Linked DNA regions of Homo sapiens: region 1 is linked to region 2. The links are contacts of gene promoters, found by promoter capture Hi-C in blood cells and fetal thymus (Javierre and others, 2016). All regions are on one chromosome and are shown on one strand. Each heading gives the region's core, a stretch centred on a gene start or on the middle of the fragment in contact. The rest is flanking DNA. Distances are from core to core; before and after follow the strand shown.

Evidence for each region. The method cuts DNA at HindIII sites, captures the fragments that hold promoters and counts their contacts. A CHiCAGO score of 5 or more calls a contact.
Region 1: the fragment with the promoter of TNKS2 here is called in contact with the fragment with the promoter of KIF20B in region 2 in 1 of 17 cell types (fetal thymus); the score reaches 6.4 in fetal thymus.

Annotation. Positions count from the first base shown.
Region 1 is chr10:91,797,165-91,799,864 of GRCh38, reverse strand. It overlaps TNKS2 (tankyrase 2), which reads right to left and starts at 1,439. Exons shown (of 27, transcript NM_025235.4): 1 at 976-1,439. The coding sequence starts at 1,174. TNKS2-DT (TNKS2 divergent transcript) reads left to right here and starts at 1,574. Exons shown (of 2, transcript NR_108071.1): 1 at 1,574-1,628. RefSeq lists a silencer at 1,071-1,480 and an enhancer at 1,561-1,730. The HindIII fragment of the contact is 6,559 bases long and covers 1-2,700 here.
Region 2 is chr10:89,700,277-89,702,976 of GRCh38, reverse strand. KIF20B (kinesin family member 20B) reads right to left here and starts at 1,387. Exons shown (of 33, transcript NM_001284259.2): 1 at 1,297-1,387. RefSeq lists enhancers at 709-1,225, 1,226-1,741 and a silencer at 1,786-1,865. The HindIII fragment of the contact is 4,302 bases long and covers 1-1,884 here.

The DNA.
Region 1 (2,700 bases), core at 190-2,689, 2.1 Mb before region 2:
CATGAAATACACAAAACAAAAAACCAGGATTGTCAGAGGTAAGAGGAGGTACTCCCATTTTCAATCACGCATGACTCACCTGAAGTTAGAAACAGTCATCATCTTTCCTACAAGTGAACAGCATGCATGCTTTATGGGAATAAGCTGAATATCCCATCTATGGCTCTTTTAAATTTTTCGACTAAATTTAATATGCTTAAATCATAAAGTGAACCTAATAAATATTAAAATAATGTAATTCAAACGATCTAAATTTCAGAATGAAGCAAGGTTAGTCCCAACTTAAATTCTAGATTCAAGCTAAAGTACTTGCACTATCTTTTCTCTTATACTACCACTTTCCGCCCAACTTGTATGTGTGTGTGTCTAAGGCTTCCCGCACCCAGCCTAAGTCAGGTTTCAGTTCTCCCAAACTTGCCTATTTCCCGTTCTAGTCACTCCAGAAACTTGGTAATGATTGGCTATTCTGATAAACCAATTAACGCTAATGTGTCAACGTCCTATTAAGCTACTCCTCCTAAATTACATCCTTGTATTTTACAAAGTCCTTCAAGACCTTAACCCAAATGGAACTTGCAAGAACGAAAAATTTTGGAGGTAACTGACCTTTTAAATCATAAGGTCTATCAACTACGTCCCCTACTCTTTCTTGTGTGTAGAGGCCTTCTAGGGTAACAAGACCGGAAGTTGGTACAGGTATTGTTGATACTGTAAAACAAAACAAAGCCAAAACCCCAAACCACCCCCAACACCTGGCAAAAAAACCAAACCAAGACAAAACAAAAAACTTCCAGCGAGTGTGGCACGCTCACCCTACCCCTAATCTCCTTAGTCCCCACTGGAAGAGAGCGAGATCACCAGGACCAGAGTCCTGGAGAAAGGTCGGGAGGCGGAGGAGCACTGGTTTCAGACCTGTGGGCCCCGGCTGCGCAGGTGGGGTCTGGAGCGAGGCGAGGGGACGCTGGCCCCGGTTACCTGCGGCGAAGTGCAGCGGGGTGGATTTCCTGCCCGCCGTGTCGCGGCTGTTCACCTTCTCAGGCGTCACCAGCCTCTTGACTCGTTCCACGTCCCCGTTGCGGCACGCCTCGAACAGCTCTCGGGCGGCCGGCTCCACGGCCTCGGCCGCGGCGCTCGCGCAGGCCGCTCCCCCGCCGGCGCAGCGGCGACCCGACATGATCCTGGCCGCCGCCACAGCCAGCAACAGCGCCAGCAACCGGAGCAGGAGCCCCGGCCCCGCGAGCAGGAGGGCGAGGCCCCCCGGAGAAGACGCGCTCAGGGCCCGGGCCGCTTGGCTCCCTGCTGTCACCGGATCCGGCGCAGTCCCATGGCCGCGCCCACGCGCGCCCCTCGCTGGGCTCCCTGCCCCCCGGCTGCCCCGCGGCGGCGGAGGCAGCGCGAATCCGCCGTCCGGGTCCTGAAACGACGCGGCGGCGGAAGCTGGCAAGGCCCCTCCTGCCAGCTCCGTCCAGCCCCGGGAGCGCACGTGACGTCGTCCCGCGCGTGCGCAGTGGCCGGGCACCGGCTGGGCAGGTTTCGGCTAGCGAGGCGGCGCGAAGGGTTTGTGGGAAATGTGAGGCGAGAGGCTTCGGCGGCGGGAGAAGGGGCTTCGTCCCACCGCCATCTTTGCGGTGGGTTCTGCTGAAGCCGAACGATCCTGCATATTGTGTTTTTTGTTGTTGTTGTTTTAAGCCCTGGGCTTTCCAGGCTGAACTTTCTCACTACCATTACACTGAAAAAGAGCCCTTGAAAGTTTTGCTCGGATCTTGCACATTCTTTTGGAAGTCTTACTGTGGAAATTGTCCGTGTTTTCAGCTTCCACATCCCTTTCTCCTGGGAGATTTCTTTTCCGTTTTTTTTACTTTGTCTCTTTTCTTTCCTCCGCAACTGCTTTGTTGTTGTTGTTGTTGTTTCTTGTAAACCACTTCTCAAAAGTGAACTAGTTGCCGTTTAATAGAAGTTTGGATGAACTGCCCCCAAAATAAAGGAAATCCGAACAGTCATGGAAGTTGACTCCAATTGGAGGGATGGCTCTGATCAATTACTCTTTCCACAGTAAGTTATTAGCTCAGGATTGATTAGAGGAACTTTTTGTAAATCAATATTGTACCTGACATGCCTAAAGTTTGGATACACTGAGCATACGCATCTCCAAGAAAGTTTTCTGAGTTATAATCTTTTTCTTTGACCAACAAACAAAAGAAAAGCATATAATTGATTTTCATGCTTAAGATACTGGTGTAGTTTTACACGATAATTCCCCACTACACCCCCTTGTCTTAAACTGAAAGAAAGGTATGCCTATACATACATTTTACTTACAGAAGATGATACATGTTGACCTTTGCCATTCTGAAAAGCATCCCCCCCCCAACCTCCTACCTTAACCTGTTTTTCAGGAAATCCAGTTTTTGTTGGGGAATGTTGACTCACTACAGTGCTAAAAGAGGATGTACACTTTTTTGAGCATTTTTATACATATGAAATTGAAGTTATGGTGCTTATCAATAACATGAACATGCATGAACGAACCTAGGACTAGAACACTACCAATATGATTGCGTTTATCATTTTTCTTCCCATAAATCTGCTATGGTGATCTATGATCAGTGATAAGTTGAAATCACTGTTGTAATTGTTTTGAGGCACCACAAACCACACCCATAGAAGACAGCAATCAATCAATAAATGTGTATGTTCTGA
Region 2 (2,700 bases), core at 138-2,637:
AAAAGTGTTCAGACTTACTGTAACTTCTTGCGATTTTAGATGACTTCTACTTATACGTGGCCTTCCCAACTAAACTGGAAACTTCTTGATGGCAAGAACCTTGCCTTATACCACTCTGTATCCCCTATAACAAATTCAGCGACTTATGCAGGGATAAAGACTACCTAATGACTTAAAATAATGGTTATAAAGAAAATACTATTCCAAAAAAAAAAAAAAAAGTCGGTCCTAGTCTGTAATATTATCTTTCGTGACAGCAGGCTCCAAGACCTCATTTTTCATTTCAAAAGGCTGCTCTGACTGGAAAACTGCATATTTACCCTCTCTCCAATAAGAATCCACAATTGGAGACTTTGGTGAAAAATAGCAGAATCTGTTGCTGAATGAGGTTTCTGAATGTGGTCTACAACACAAAGCCTCAAAAAAAGTCTTCACAACTAATCGATGAGTATTTTATGTTATTTTTACAATTTAAAATCTGGAGTCTTGGACATGTAAGATAAATACACTGTTACACTACCTAACCCATAAGGCGTGAACTTCTGTAAACTAGTAGTTTAGCAAGAAATATAAGAGAACTGTGCCAGACATGCATCACTGAACCAGCGAGCGAATCGAGATGGAGAAAGCCTTCTAAACTGGGGAATGACAGCAGTCACTGTGCCACAAACTCTTCAGCCTGGCACTGCAAAACCCTAGAAGGGCAAGCCCCAAGGACCAGTAGGAGTAGTCTGGAAATAAGTGCACAGAGGCTACCACAGGGCTCCCCCCGCAAAAAGGCCGTGTTACCTACCAGCCGAGCAAACTGCTCACCTCAGAGCTTCAGAAAACTAGGTGTGGCAAAACAGGCCTGTTCCTCAACAACAACAGAAGCAACAACAATAATAATATTAATAACTGCAAACATTTAGTACCTACTGTGTGCCAGCACTAATAACTTTACACATTACCATTTAATCTTCACAAAAGCCGAAAGAAATAGACACTTCATTGCAGCCTTTTAACTGATAAGAAAACTAAGGTACAGAGAGAGATTAAATGAATTGTCTTGCGTCACTCAGCTAATTAGCAGTGGAGGCGAGATTTAAACCGTAACCGAATTAGTATGACTCATTCCTCGCTGCGTACCCCGTGTTCGCATCGCTCCGCAACCCAGTTCCTGACAGTAACCTCCACTGGGGTATGAGCCCTGTCGGAACATGTCCACATTGCCAAAGCCGTTTCCCCACCTTAGGCCCCATACATGCGCAGTCACCCACCTCCTTCCCCACACATTCCCGCGGGTCACCTCCTCACCTGCAAACTTCGCCTGACTAGCCAGACCCGCGAGCAGCACTGCGATGTTACCGTTTTCAAATTCAAACAATGGCGGCCAGGGCACCGCACTGAACGCTGGGAGTAGGTGGGGCGTCCAGAGCTCCGCCAGGGAGCGTAGCCGGCTCGCGCTGCGGGCTTTCCAGTGGCTACCGGAAGAAGCTCTCCAATATGGGGGCGGGTCTTGAAACGCGGGCAGCCAATGGGCGGAAGCAGGCGTGGGCCGCCCTGGTGCTGACGGTCTGGTTTGCCTCCCAGCTCTGCTAGCCGGGCTTTAGTAGTGCGCTTTCTCGCGGCTGTCATAAGTACCACGCTGTTGACTGGGACACCGATCTCCAATTCTGTCCTTGAGGCAATAAAGATGTGGCGAAGGCCCGAGGTGAGGCCACTGCCACTGCACTTAGTCCTGCGACTCCCCTAAGGACGGGCCGAGGAATGGCGGGCTAGCCACTTCCCAGTCCTGTCCCTACGGGGCAGAAAAAGGCTCGGCATCCCGGGATCCGGAGGGTCACTTCCCTCGCTGCATCCCCATTGTGCAACTGCCAGTCTAAAAATTGATATAGGTAAGCTTATGAATGCTAAAACTAATGAATGCAAGATGCTAAAACAAACAATTAACTGAAAGGTTGTAGGGAAGAGGATGTTAGTATCTCAAAGAATCACCCTACAGATCATTTCTTATTATAAAGGGAAAATAGAATTTTACACTGAAGAGATTTATTAGACATACCTTAACCAAGTGAAGATACTTAGCATCGCTAATATCACCCGATAGTATTTGTGCTAGAAATGTTTGACATTAATCATGAGGAAACAATCAGAAAAAAACAATGTAGAATATTCTACAAGACAACAGGCCTAGGCTCTTCAAAAATGTCAGTGTCATGACAGGAAAAAGAAAAAAACGAAGTGGAAAATTACTTTAGTCGAGAGTCAAAAGAAACCAAATGAAATTTGTGAATCTTGGCTGGTTCATAGTTTTTAAAAAAAAAAAAAAACTTCGAAAGACATTTGTGGACAACTGGGGAAATTTAAATATGAACTACATATTAGATGATATTGAATCAGTTTTAAATTGATTGCATGTGAGAATTAATTTGTGATTAAGTGGAAGAATGCCTTTGTTTTTGGAAGGCGCTTGCTAAAGTAATTAGCAGCAAAGTGTCACAGTGTTTGCGGCTTACCTTCAAAAGATATGGCAAAAAAATAGAGAAAGCAAATGTGGCAAAATATTAGTAATTGGTGAATCTAGTTGAAGGGTATAATGGTGTACATCGTACCAGTCTTGCAACTTTCTAAAATAACAGATTTTATAAAATAAAAAGAGGAGGGGGGAAAAGGAATAGAATTCTGATCTTTACCATGGCCTCCCAGGTCCTGCACAAT